Linked DNA regions of Homo sapiens: all the other regions are linked to region 3. Evidence: promoter capture Hi-C in 16 types of primary human blood cells and fetal thymus (Javierre and others, 2016). All regions are on one chromosome and are shown on one strand. Each heading gives the region's core, a stretch centred on a gene start or on the middle of the fragment in contact. The rest is flanking DNA. Distances are from core to core; before and after follow the strand shown. Region 1 overlaps VWA8 (von Willebrand factor A domain containing 8). Region 2 overlaps VWA8 (von Willebrand factor A domain containing 8). Region 3 holds the start of NAA16 (N-alpha-acetyltransferase 16, NatA auxiliary subunit). Region 4 has its middle 5.9 kb from the start of TRE-TTC1-2.

Region 1 (3,215 bases), core at 682-3,181, 330 kb before region 3:
TTCTTTAGTCACGCTAAACCTGACACATCCAGAAAATGTCTCCCAAAAGCTTCTGATCCTCATTTATATCCTAAGTTTTACCACAGGCAGGCCATCAAAGTCAGTGATCTTCATGTTCTGGGGCATTTCCATTGGAGCTCTTTTTTTCTGTGTAAATGATAAACAGAGATGTACTTTACTGCTACTGTTAGTAAAGCTGTGTGTGTAATATGTGAGGAAAAGGTAAGGTACTGAAGCCTGCCCATCACTGTTAAGTATTCTACATGTATCTCTCCATTTTCTCTTTGTAGCTTCCTATGTGATAGAATGATGATAGTCCCATTTTATAGATGAAGAAACAGATTTTCAAACAGATTACATAGTACACCCAATGTCCTGTGGCCAGTAAGTGACATTTTCAGACGTGAGCCACTAGGGCAAGCATTGAGTCTGCAGATCATGTTCAGGATTGTCTGGTATGATGCAGTTCAGACCATACATAAATACAGTATTTTACTAACCTTCTGAAAGATATGCTAGCCCTTTAATCTAATGTCTTATTTACTGATGTATACAGTGCTTTCTATAAATCTGATATATATTAAAAAGGAAAAATGCTTGCCTTTCAGGCATATTTCTTGCTTTCCTAAACCATGATATGCTTTATAAAACATTGAATTTTGTACTATCAAGAATACATTCATTGTTTATAGCCAGTGTAATGTAGTAAAAAAAAAATCTGATAAACCTGGGTTTTAGAAGGAGATGGACTGAGATTTCAATCCTGGCTCCTCCAATTAATAACTATGTGATAATGAGTATGTTGCTATACATCTCTAAGCCTTAGTTTCCTGTCCTGCAAAGTAGAAATAATACCTAATATGGAGAATTATGAATATCAGAAGTAGTATATTTAAAATGCCTAGACTGTAAACATCAGGGCACCGGCACGTGGTCGTCACTCATCATCATTACTCACTGAATGAATCCATGAATGAATTAATGATTCAGATTAGGTTCCATTGTTCAACCCTACACATAAAAATCAGGAAAATTTGGCCGGGCGTGGTGGCTCACACCTGTAATCCCAGCACTTTGGTAGGCAGAAGTGGGCAGTTCACTTGAGGTCAGGAGTTCTAGACCAGCCTGACCAACATGGGGAAACCCCTTCTCTACTAAAAATACAAAATTAGCTGGGCGTGGTGGCACATGCCTGCAATCCCAGCTACTCGGGAGGCCGAGGCAGAAGAATCGCTTGAACCCAGGAGGTGGAGGTTGTGGTAAGCCTAGATTGTGCCATTGCACTCCAGCCTGGGCAACAAGAGCAAAACTCCGTCTCAAAAAAAAAAAAAAAAAATCAGGAAAATTTGATAAGAATCTTAAGTGAGAAGAAAAATCATATACATTCTCTTCTTTGCCCTCCTGGAAATACCTTTCTTCTTTCAGATGCACTTAGAAAAATAAAAGTAAGTGAAGAAGTCACATCTGATATTATGTGATTTAAAAAAAAAGATTTTTAATTTCACAAGTGAGCAAGTATAGATTGAAGTGCAAATCCTAAATTGGAGCTAGTAGAGAGAGAACTGCCTTTTCCTTGGCACTTCAGCACATTTATTCTCGTTTTTTTAAGGTATCCATTTCTCTCAAGTCTTTCATGGAACAGTCATGATACTGGAAATGTTTTGAGTCGCTCTCATGCCACCTCTTTTGCAACTGACAGCAAACATGTTTTCAGGAGTTCAGAAGTAATCAAGTCCTAATATCAGCTGCCAGAGCCATAAAAAGGGGCCTGCCGCAATCTGGGCAGAACACTGAGTGAGTTAGGAAACATCAGTTTGGTATTTGTAATATTTGTAGCAAAACTGAACTTCCTGAGTGAGGTCATGAATGAACAGCAGATCATGAGTGTTATTATAAGAATTGGACAGAGTGTAGAATTCTCATACAACCCAAACTTCAGAAAATATCCTTGATGAAAATCCGGAGTTATTTTTTCCCAATGCTAATATTAACATGATACATACCTGGCATATCTCTACTGAAAAATGAATGTTTTGTACTAAGCAGTACCTTTTTCACTCTCCTAAAATAATAGTAATGATAGATAATGCATATTGCATTTAGTATGGCCAGGCACTATCTTAAGTAATAATGTGAATTTAACATTTTTAACCCCCACAATGACCCTATGAGGTAGGTGCCATTACTATCCTTGTTTTACAGATGAAGTGCCTTACACGGTTAATAAGTGTCAAAGACAGAGTTTGAATTCAAGGAAACTGGTTCCAATGTCTGTGCTTTTAACCATGTTTAGAGGAAATTTTTGAGTAGCAGTAATACAGTGAGTCCTCACTTAACATAGTCAACAGGTTCTTGGAAACTATACTATTCTTGGAAACTTTAAATGAAACAATAAATAATGAAACCAGTTTTACCATAGGCTAATTGGGATAAACAAGAGTTAAGTTCCTACAGCATATTTCTGGTTACAAAAACATCACCTAACTTCTAAATAGAGACCCAAAACACTCCTTATAGTAAACACTGAAATCAGTGTAAGCTATATATACATTTAAGAAAGATTAATGAAAACAAGTAAGATAACTGTTTACCAAATTACTCCAGTTCAGGGCTGCAGTTAGCCAGAGCCTATCCTGGTGGCTCAGGGGAACCCACCTTGCACAGGAGGCCATCCCCCGCCTCGTGGGGCACACTAACACACCTGCACTCACTCACACTGGGACCATGTAGACACACCAGTTAACCTAAAGTGCACAGCTTTGGGATGTGGGAGGAAACCAGAGTAGCTAGAGAAAACACACACAGGCATGGGGAAAACGTGCAGACCCCACACAGACAGTGGCCCTGGCCGGGAATCTGTGTTTTTTCTCATTGACTTTATAATGAAATGTCCTTGAACAAAATGTTATTCAAGGACCTGCTCTACATGTATCTGCTAAGACTAGACAAAATATATATTTAATTATCCTAGAGAAGTGCATATGGGCAAGGCAAACTACCTCTCTACACTCTGGTTTTTTTTTTTGGCGGGGGTGGTACAAGATGCCTAGGTCTCACAGGTAGATTAGAGGCTCGTAAGAGGAAAGCCTCTGAAAGAGCCAAGGGTTCTTCCAAGCTAAGAGGGTTCACCTTGCTTCCCTGGGAAAAATTGCTTTAATATAATGGCACAATTAAAAAAAAATCTGGGTAGTCAGCTACCATGCTAAAATTGTTGC
Region 2 (3,444 bases), core at 809-3,308, 350 kb before region 3:
CTAATTTATGTTTAGCACTATTAGTCTATTCCCCCTTTTAAAGAGAATTTTCTAGGACTATGAATAAATGCAGTTTGATGTACTTAGGTAAGTAAGCTTGGCCTTTTCTATAATCTCTAGTCTAGCAGTTTTGATTTTTGAAGATCTCAGTTGGATATTAAGTTCTATTTTCAGTTTTAGAAACCACTGGGTTATTTAACTGGCTGACTATTAGTAAATTTACATGCTAGGTAATCTTCAGATCCTCTATGGGATTATGAAATTCTTTGTTCTTTTTAAGGAGCATAGTTTACTCTTATACATCATTCTTTACTTTGATCAATAACTCTGAAAAAATAGTCTGATTCAGTGGATCATTGTTACAGAACAATCCATATTTTGTAGGATTGTTATATGTACATGTGTCTTTGGGAATCTTTCTTGGCCCAGAAAGGCAATGCTTTTCTGAACTTTTATAATTTCTCACCATCCATGTCTCCTCGCCACGTGTCAGTAGAGCTGGGTTTCAGCAAGATGATCCAGCTGTTTCCCTATATGGTAACACTTGGGCATTGCCTGTAATTATTTTTTTATTGTTTATTCCTATTAGAGAAGTCCCAGCCATGAAAATTCATTTTGAATCTTTAAGATTTTCAGGAGTACTGAGTGAAAATGCAAGATCCCGGTGGCGTGCTAGTAAACTAGTTCTCATGGAGACTGGGGGGTTGTTAAGTTTGCCAGTTTCCATTTTGCAAACACCCCCACCATGATTTCAAGCTACCAAAGGTTAACAATCAGCTTGAAAAATTCCTAAGTATTTAGCAGTTATCTCTCATAGGCTGATATAGTTTAGCTCTATCATGCCACTTGCTTATTTATGGCTTTATCATCTAACTCCCCAAAGAGAATTATGGCAGTTACCTAACAGCAAGGCTTTCAGAAATGAGGCAGTAAGATGGTGATAGGGACAGAAGCAATGAGAGAAAAGGGAGAAAGGTACAGAGAACACAGATAAGATAGTATCATGTTAGCTCAGGAAATGTGGAAGCCTGCAGTTATCCCAGTAACCAATTGGCCATACTCTTCTTGAACCAGAAATTTGGTTTGAGTAAAGAATTGAAGAAAAATCTGCCCTGAAGTAAGATAGCACTCCTGGGTTCATGCATATGGGCCTCCTTTCTTATATAGATTGTGTTTCAGAGAGAAATTGCAAGTTGATTTTTACATTCCTCTAAAAGAAAAGCTTCCATTGGATCACAACATTATCAGTAATTGCTAAATACAATTAAAATTAAATCAGCAGTCACCTCCCTAAGGCAAGCAAATAAACAAGTTTATGATTTTAGGGAGGCTGTGAGGTTTCATTAACTTTTTATGCATATCCAATAAGAATGATACCCCTATAAATTATGAAAATTATAGAATGTTAAACTAATATTTAAAATAGAAATATTATCTTACTTTCACTCTTTAGAAAAGGTCTAACCTCAAAAAATTCCTTTTCAAATCATCAGCAGGACTATTTCAATCTCCTCTCAAGACAGGCCGTAGGATAATTGTGTTACCATATCACTAGTGCATATTGTTCAACAATATGATCAGCAAGTAAAGAGGTAATTTTAACAATATTAAAGTATAAAGAAAACAAATTAATTCTGCAATATACTGGCTATAAACCTGAATGTGAAATGCAATTAATAGGTTGACAGTCAATGACTCTAGAACTGTTACGGTTCTGAGCTCGTTAGGTATACACTTACATTTAAGTACTTACATTAAGTACTTACTTAATGTACTTAATTACTTACATTAAGTACTTACTTAAATGTAAATGTATACCTTACAATCACAATGGCTATAGAAATAAAAGCTTCTTGCTATTATATTTATGATTTTATTCATAAGCAGTACAACTTATTATTTAAGAGCATGAAATTTATAGTGTTCAAACCTAGATTAAAATCCTGGTTCAACTTTGTAGGTGATCTCTGGCAAATTACTTATTCTTTCAAAGCCTCACTTTCTAATCATAATATAAAAATAATTGAACCTTAACAAAGTTGTAAGAATGAAATACAGTAATGCCTGGTACAGAGTAAGTACTCAGTAAACAATAAAAAATAGAAACTTAGAATTTAAGTTAATATTGGGCTACGGAATTCTTCAATGCTTTATGGAGACAAAGCCAAATTTAAATGAAACAGTATTACTCAAATACCTAATATTAACTTATGATCCAATGAGTTACATAATTCATCATCTATACTAGTGTTAAAATGTAAGCTTTGTTTATAATCCTGTTTGGAAAAAATTTTGTCAGATCCAAAAAAGGAATTGTAAAAATGGTCTTTGCCTAAACCTGTCAGCTTGAAGAAAAGCAGGAAATCAATGATAGGACAATTGTCAGCAGAGGATTATAGTGTTTAGCCTTATTTAAAAGACAAATTAGAACAAGACCAAAAAACATGCAGCAAAGTATACATCATTTACTCTGAGTCCTGAGAACAGTAGAAAACAGGAAAACAACAACAACAGCAACAAAAACACAGGGCAAATTGGAATCCTGTCTTTCTAAGCTTTTCATAGCTTTTTCCTCCTCCTATTTTAAGCTTTTGTTAGCAACAGGACTTGAAGATACTGTGTAGTTCTGAAGGTTGTAATGTGGGGTGGCACTGAAATTTGGAAGATTAGTCGAAAGTCTGTCCAGGCCGTTGAGACATCCAGATTTTCTCCTCTATCCTATGCTTCTAGGCAGCTGGCTCTCCTCTGCCCTTACAAAAGGCACCAATTAGGACAGGAGGGAAACCATACAACAAGAAGATAAAGTGAAAGTCTGCTTTTTTTACTTAGACTCAAGGAAGGTAGTAGCATCTATATTTAAGAATTTCACTGAACTAAAGAACCAGATATACAGTATAACAAATGGAACACACACACACACACACACACACACACACACACACACACATCAAAGCATGTCCACTTGAAATTTTAGAACCCCATGGATAAAGAAATAAAGCCGATAACTTCTAATTTTGAGAGAAGTAGGGAACAGGTCATATAAAAGTGGTAGAAATCCTAATGGCACTGGGTTTCTCCAAAGCAGCATTGGAAACTAAAGAGAAAATCAAAGAGGGAAAAGGATTTCCGGCTAGAATTTATATCCAGCCAAGCTATTAATCAAGTAGACTAAAACCATTATTAAATGTGCAAATCTCAAAAACATTACATTATTTCTCAAGAAGCTACTGCATGATGTGCTGTCGCTAAAAAAAGGGAGTAAACCAAGAAAGAGGAAGACATAGGTGGAAAGAGTGGCAAAGGTAATTCCCAGTTGGGCAAAATTATCTAACATAAAAGCCTATTTGATAATAAAGTGCTGAATACCTCATGTAACTTACTGAATACATTATGTCTAGACTGTGACATAATATATTCAGTAAGTTACATGAGCTATTCAGCACT
Region 3 (3,133 bases), core at 445-2,944:
TTCTCCAATTCCATGCTGTGTAAAATAAAAGGGCATGAGAAGTAAAATAAAAAAATACAAAGCCCAATGAAGCAACCTGCCACGTGCTTTAATTATTCGTATTTTTAATGTTCTCACATTTGTATCTTATTATTGGTTCAAAACTAAGCACCACATAATATTTAAAATTTTTATCCCATCTACTATGTATCCTAATCTGAAGACTAAGTGTGAAGTTTCTATCGTCTTGAAACAGAACAGCTACTATGAATTATCTGCCGCTGTTCATACTTAAAATTACTCTAAAATTAGTATTTTATTTATAGTAAAGTTAAGCAACAACTAACAGCCATATAGCCAACCCAGCTTTCAATAAATTCACCTTTAAACCTAAATGCATGTTTAGCAAATAAAAGCTTTTTTTCAGGTGAAAAGATAAACTAGAAAAGACAGTTACCTACTAACAATATTAGTTTAAAACCTAGGGTAGCCAGAGGATACTGAGGAAAGCAAAGGAATGCTGCCTCTTCTCCTTGGAAGAACAGAACCTGGAAAGCTACCAGGGACGCTGGCACACAGCCCACAGAAAACTGCCCACCCGGCTCCGCAGCGGTCATCACTACGGGGCCATTATTCAGGCTTCTGCTCCGCGATAAAGTAAAAATGCTCCCCTCAAATGCAAAACCAGCCAGTCCACGCGGCTTTAATTACTCAAGCAAGGCCTGTGCGACTAAAAAGCAAACAGCTGTTTTGAAGTTGGTGACAACTCAGAAACGCACTTCAAGTCAAATATTCACTTCCAAAGAGGTAAATAAGGTACATTACAAACAGGCAAACTTTTTCCCAAAGGGAGGTGGTGCCAGGCCTGGCTTCCTAAAGTTGCCGGTTTTATTTCCTCGTAACCAGGAAAAATTCCACCATCGCATCGATCCCGCTTTAATAGGTATGCGGGTGTGCTGTGCAATCTAACTAAACGCAAAGCAGAGAATGCAGAACGCAAAACACCTAGCCGAGGAGAGACTGGCAAAATAAACCACCGGGGGAGGATCCCTGAGGGGCTGCTGCGAGCCCGGCGCGGCAGAGAGCACGGCAGCCACTACCGGCCGAGGCGGCTGTGCCCGGGCACTGCGGAGAGCGGCGTGAAGTTTCTGGAAAGAGCGCGGCGGGGGTGAGGCGAGCCGCAGAAGACCGCGGAAAGGAAGCGCACGGAGGAGCGGCTCGGCAGCCCCCGTGGGCCGGCCGGAGCGGGAAAGTGGGGTCCCGCGACCTCCGAGGTAAACAAAGAGCGGTGGGCAGCGGAGGCCAAGCCTGGCCCGCGCCGGCCGCCGCCAGACCGCTTGCCCTTAAGGCCCGAGGACCCGGGGACCGGGGGGCGGCAGCGCGGCCTACGGCCACTCACCAAGATGCGTTTGAAGAGGTTGCTCTCCTTGGGCGGCAGCAGCACGTTCGGCATCGTGGCCGGCAGGGAGGCTAGGTGGCCGGCAGGGAGGCTAGGTGCCCGGGCGCTCCGCTTCGCGGGGGTGGGCACCGGGACGAACCGCTGCTGAGAGTCGGGCTGCGGGCGATGGATTAGTTCATTGGTCTACAGTTGCAATTGGGCAGCCTGGCTGTTCGGCACGGGTGGCAATGGAGAAGGAAGGCGGTCTGAGCAGGACACGCTTCCCCTGGGCTCCGCTTTTTGGCCAGCGGCGGCGGCGGCGGTTCCCGCGCACTGCAAGATGGCAGCCAGGGTCCGCCTCCCGAGCCGGATCCTGTGCGCATGCGCGGAGCGCCCTTTGGCGAGGGGCTGCGGGTGACTACGGGGGCGTAGCGGGGACCAACCGCGTGGATTTGCCTTGTGCTGCGGCTCTCCTCGCCGCAATCTCGGCACCCCCTGGGGCTCAGGCGAGCTGTCACCAAAACCTTGGAGTCCCATGGGGTGGTGAGTCACCACCCTCATTCACCATTGCTCCTATGCATCAGAACGCCTCATAAGACTCCTACTTATTGTCTGCTTCTCCTTGCAATAAAGTAATAAATAAAAACGAGAATTTTCTTTTAAGTAGAAAAGAGAAGACACTGACTTGTATTGCACTCTTGATAAGCTTGTGGCGCAAGATAATGTTAGTTATGACTCTGAAGAGTCAGAGTTTTTTGCATTTCTCCCCATTTAGGAATTTAAGTGTCCGATGCAAAGTAGACTTTTGATGAAAGATGAACTTGTTTTCTTTCCTTTTCCTCCTTGATTCAGACTCTAAGTAGAAGCCTTCTCTTTCCAGGGCAAACCAAACAAACATTTACAATCTTTGTTTTTGTTTGGTTGGTTGGTTTTGAGATGGAGTATCGCTCTTGTCGCCCAGGCTGCAGTGCAGTGGCGCTATCTGGGCTCACTGCAACCTCCGCCTCCTGAGTTCAAAGGATTCTCCTGCCTCAGCCTCCCGAGTGGCTGGGATTACAGGCATGCGCCACCACACCCGGCTAATTTTGTATTTTTAGTAGAGACAGGCTTTCACCATGTTGGCCAGGATGGTCTTGATCTCTTGACCTCGTGATCCGCCCCCGCGTCAACCTCCGAAAGTGCTGGGATTACAGGCGTGAGCCACCACACCTGGCCGGAATTACGGTTTTATAAGGCCACTGGTCTTCTGAGTCTACCTACCCTTTCTCTTCAGATGGTTCCCCTTCCTGAAAGCCATATAATAATGGGAGAAACAGGCTTCAAATTCAGGATCTTCCAACTCTGGGATACTCTCTACAACAAATAAAAGGCAGCATATTGATGGTAATGTGTGAGTCTAGAAAGATACAACAGTGGCAAGAATAAACCATACATTCAGTGTAGGGTTAGTAGTAAGGTGTGTGTAAACATTAGGTACATAAGTTTATTTATACATGTGCTGAATCTTAATGGGTGCATATTTCTGAGACTATAAAGTAATTGATGAGTAACTGCATTTAGTCGGCTGTAATCAGAACTGGGCTGCCCTTTTTTATTTTCCTTTTTTTGAGACGATGTTTTGTTCTTGTTGCCGAGGCTGGAATGCAATGGCGCTATCTCAGCTCCCTGTAACCTCCGCCTCCCAGGTTCAAGCGATTCTCCTGCCTCAGCCTCCCAAGTAGCAGGGATGACAGGCATGCACCACCACACCTGGCTAATTTAGTATTTTTAGTAGAG
Region 4 (3,457 bases), core at 525-3,024, 260 kb after region 3:
AAACAATAGTAAAGAAGTTGGAACCCTTATACAGTGCTGCTGGAAATGTATAATGGTGCAGTTGCTTTGGAAAACAGTTTGGCAGTTCCTCAAAATGTTAAACAGTTACCATATGATCCAGTATTTCCACTCCTAGGTGTGTACCCAGTAGAAATGAAAACATGCCCACACCAAACCTTGTATACAAATGTTTATAGCAGCATTATTCATAAGCAAAAAGTAGAAACAACCTGAATGTCCCTCAACTGATGAGTGAATAGGTAAAATGTAGTGTATCCACACAGTGGAATATTTGGGAATAAAAAGGGATGAGGTACTCAATCACAAGAACATTACACTAAGGAGTCAGGCATGAAAGACCACATTTTTATTCCATTTATATGAAATATCCAAAATAGGCAAATCTATAGAGAAAGAGGGAAAATTAGTGGTTGCCTTGGATTAGAGGGGATAGGGAGGTTTGGGGTGAGGTGACTGCCAATGTGGATAGTAAATTTAGGGTGATTGAAAGTCCTGAAATAGATTACAGTGATAGTTCTATAACTCTATAAATGCACTAAATAATGTTGAAGTGTACACTTTAAATAGATAAACTTCATGATATGTAAGTTTTATCTCGACTAAACTCTTAAAAGGGATTGAAGCAATAAAAAGCATATAGAATATTTTCTCTCTTGATTTTACATTTATCATTTGGATATTACCTGTTTTAAAATAATAGCAGCCTGGGCAACATGGTGAAACTTCATCTCTACCAAAGAAAAAAAAAAACAAAAATTAGCTGGTGTGGTGGTGCGTTCCTGTAGTCCCAGCTCCTCAGGAGGCTGAGGTGGTAGGATTGCTTGAACCTGGGGGGTTGAGGCTGCAGTGAGCTATGATCGCACCACTGAACTCCAGCCTGGGCAACAGGGTGAGACCCTCTCTCTAGAAAATAAAAATTAAAATAATAATGGAATAATTTAATGGGGAAACTTCAGCTCCTAGTTAGTTCCACAAATGTGGTAAGTGCTTATTAAATAACTGATGGAGGAGGTTAGGTAAGTATACAGATAATTATGATACAATACATAGTTTGATAAATGCTCAGAGGGGACTAAGCCAGGGGTCATAAGTGTTTGATAGTGTTCAAAATCCATATCTGAGTTTGTGTGAGGGGAATGAGGAAAGGCCTCCTGTAGGAGGCAGCATTCGAGATAAGCTTTGAAGGCTGGTTAGGCTTTTGCTGGTAGAGACAGGGATGGGGACAAGGCATTGAGAGGAAGCAAGCAGGAGCAGAGGCATGTCAACAGTTACTAGCACATTTTAATGGAGCTGAGGGTGCAGGTAGGATAGGAATGGGAAATAAGGCTGCGAAAATAGATTAGGGTCTGTAGTGGACAATGTGTTTTTACTATCCTCCTGATGCCTAGTGTGCCTCCAATGGCTCATACTTAGGAAGAACGATACCTCTTACCTGCAGAGAGCTGGAAGTGTCTGGGGACATATCCTCCTCCCGCTCACAGACCACTGTCAGGAGTGTAACTTTGGAGCAGGGGCTTTGACTTGTTTCCCTCTGTATCATCAGACTTGAAGCAGGGCTTGGCACCTGGTAAACATTCAGAAAACATTTGAATGAATGAATGAAAATCAAGAAGTGGCAAGCAAGGTCTATTTAAAGCAAAGCAAAGTTTATTTTACGAAGCCCCTTGACAAGGAGATTTTGGAAGCCTCTTGGATTTGGAGCTAAGGAGTTTAGTTAGGAAAAGAGATTTCTGGTAATACGAGGAATGTTTTAATGAAATGAATTTGGTAGTAACGTGCAGGTTGAACTGGTGGATGGAAGGATTATGTCTGTGCTCCCCATCTCCACTGTCCCTTTCCTGTTCCCACTCCATTAGGCCTTGACAAAGGTCAAGGACTTCCCGCAGTCCAATAATAATCTCCTAACATCTCTCCTTGCTTCTACTCTCTCCCTAAATAGGGTGGTGGCAGCAGAATAGAAAGGATCAGATACAACAGATAACACTGAAGGAAAAAATCTACGACTTCAGAAAGTAAATATTTCTAAAAGAAATAGAGAAGTTATGAAGCACAGATTTTATTGCAGCGGACTGGCAGTTTTTACTCTTAGGGTTGGCCAGCTAGTAAATTTATTGCATACCTGCGTGTGTCTGTGGCTTTCGAACTCTGAAATTGTGCATTGACTCCATGAACAAGTTAATACTGTGAGACTGCCACCCTGTGGACAAAATATCAGGACTAAAACCATCAAGAATTAAAGTTTCATTCATTTGCGATTTACTGTTTTAGAACTGGCTTTGGTTCTTCCACGTTGGTGCATGCAGTGATGCTCATTAAATAGAAAGCTTGAAATTAATTTTTTCTCTGAATTTTTTCTGAGGCTTTTAAATAAAGGGAATCTAAAATGGAACCAGTAGTTTTAAAAAGCTGCAATGATTCAAGAGTGGTTTTTAGATGGTACTTCTTTGCTCTAGAAATTTCATATGGAAGGGTTGGTTTTTTAAAATATTGTGGCATGTAGGCCTGTTGTGAAATGGTCATTTATCCCTTTTGTTGTACTGATTTTTTTCATCCCATTTTATAAGACATATGGTATTATCCTTGAGAGTTATATTTTTTGAGAAATATATCAAACATCCCCCCACACCCTTTTTTGGCTAAGTGAAAGTGGCCTTCTTGCCTCGTTTTTTTGTGGATTTGGTTGTAGTTGTTAAAAGTTCTCTACGTTTTGGATGGATTGCCTTAATTGTATTTATACAAATGAGTTTGGTTTATATTACGCTACTTATTTAGAAGGACACTCTGCTCACAAATTATACTAGTTTGGTAGTTTCATAAACTAGCTTGAATCAAAATAAAATGGTGATTGTGAAATACTTATTTGCTCACTGCAACTCAGGAAATGTTTCAGTTTTGGACTCACGACCAAATAAAACTTTCCTAAGAGATGAGCTGTTTACAGCCAATAATGTTATAAATATCTTACACACTTGAATTCCCAGAGGTGTCAGAAGGGGTGGGGTAGCCATTTAGGGCTTGAAATTTGTGTCACCAGTAAAGCAGAAGTGGGTTGAAGCAGCCATCTGGGGTCAGCAATTGTGCCTTATTTAAGAAGGTGATATCCACACTGAGGAGAATGGATGAATCATTGATTGACCCCCTTGCCACTGATACTTCACCATAGAGACCTGGTACTTTACCATAAGGACCTTACGTTTTGGTAATGTACTAATGGTCAAATATAATGTTAATGATCTTAATTTTTTTTTTTTTTGAGACGGAGTCTCAGTCTGTCACCCAGGCTGGAGTGCAGTAGCATGATCTCGGCTCACTACAAGCTCTGCCTCCCGGGTTCAAGCAATTCTCATGCCTCAGCCTCATGAGTAGCTGGGATTCCAGGCGTGCACCACCATACCCGGCTAATTTTTGTATTTTTAGTAGAGATGGAATTTCACTG

What was found. Contacts are between HindIII fragments. The CHiCAGO score rates a contact against its expected background, and 5 or more counts as called.
Region 1: a fragment that was not itself captured here is called in contact with the fragment with the promoter of NAA16 in region 3 in 1 of 17 cell types (M1 macrophages); the score reaches 5.0 in M1 macrophages.
Region 2: a contact is called between a fragment that was not itself captured here and the fragment with the promoter of NAA16 in region 3, in 1 of 17 cell types (non-activated CD4 T cells). The highest score is 5.1, in non-activated CD4 T cells.
Region 4: a fragment that was not itself captured here is called in contact with the fragment with the promoter of NAA16 in region 3 in 1 of 17 cell types (fetal thymus); the score reaches 5.0 in fetal thymus.

The regions. Positions count from the first base shown.
Region 1 is chr13:41,644,087-41,647,301 of GRCh38, reverse strand. The region is part of intron 37 of VWA8 (von Willebrand factor A domain containing 8); the gene reads left to right. Among named protein-coding and RNA genes, the nearest start is that of MIR5006, 77 kb to the right of the region's middle. The HindIII fragment of the contact is 3,759 bases long and covers 52-3,215 here.
Region 2 is chr13:41,663,893-41,667,336 of GRCh38, reverse strand. All of the region lies in intron 37 of VWA8 (von Willebrand factor A domain containing 8), which reads left to right. Among named protein-coding and RNA genes, the nearest start is that of MIR5006, 97 kb to the right of the region's middle. The HindIII fragment of the contact is 413 bases long and covers 1,852-2,264 here.
Region 3 is chr13:41,309,828-41,312,960 of GRCh38, reverse strand. NAA16 (N-alpha-acetyltransferase 16, NatA auxiliary subunit) reads right to left here and starts at 1,694. Exons shown (of 20, transcript NM_024561.5): 1 at 1,379-1,694. The coding sequence starts at 1,432. It also overlaps a transcript of MTRF1 not described here. The HindIII fragment of the contact is 1,668 bases long and covers 398-2,065 here.
Region 4 is chr13:41,053,171-41,056,627 of GRCh38, reverse strand. It overlaps a transcript of ELF1 not described here. Among named protein-coding and RNA genes, the nearest start is that of TRE-TTC1-2, 5.9 kb to the left of the region's middle. RefSeq lists an enhancer at 2,940-2,989. The HindIII fragment of the contact is 1,147 bases long and covers 1,201-2,347 here.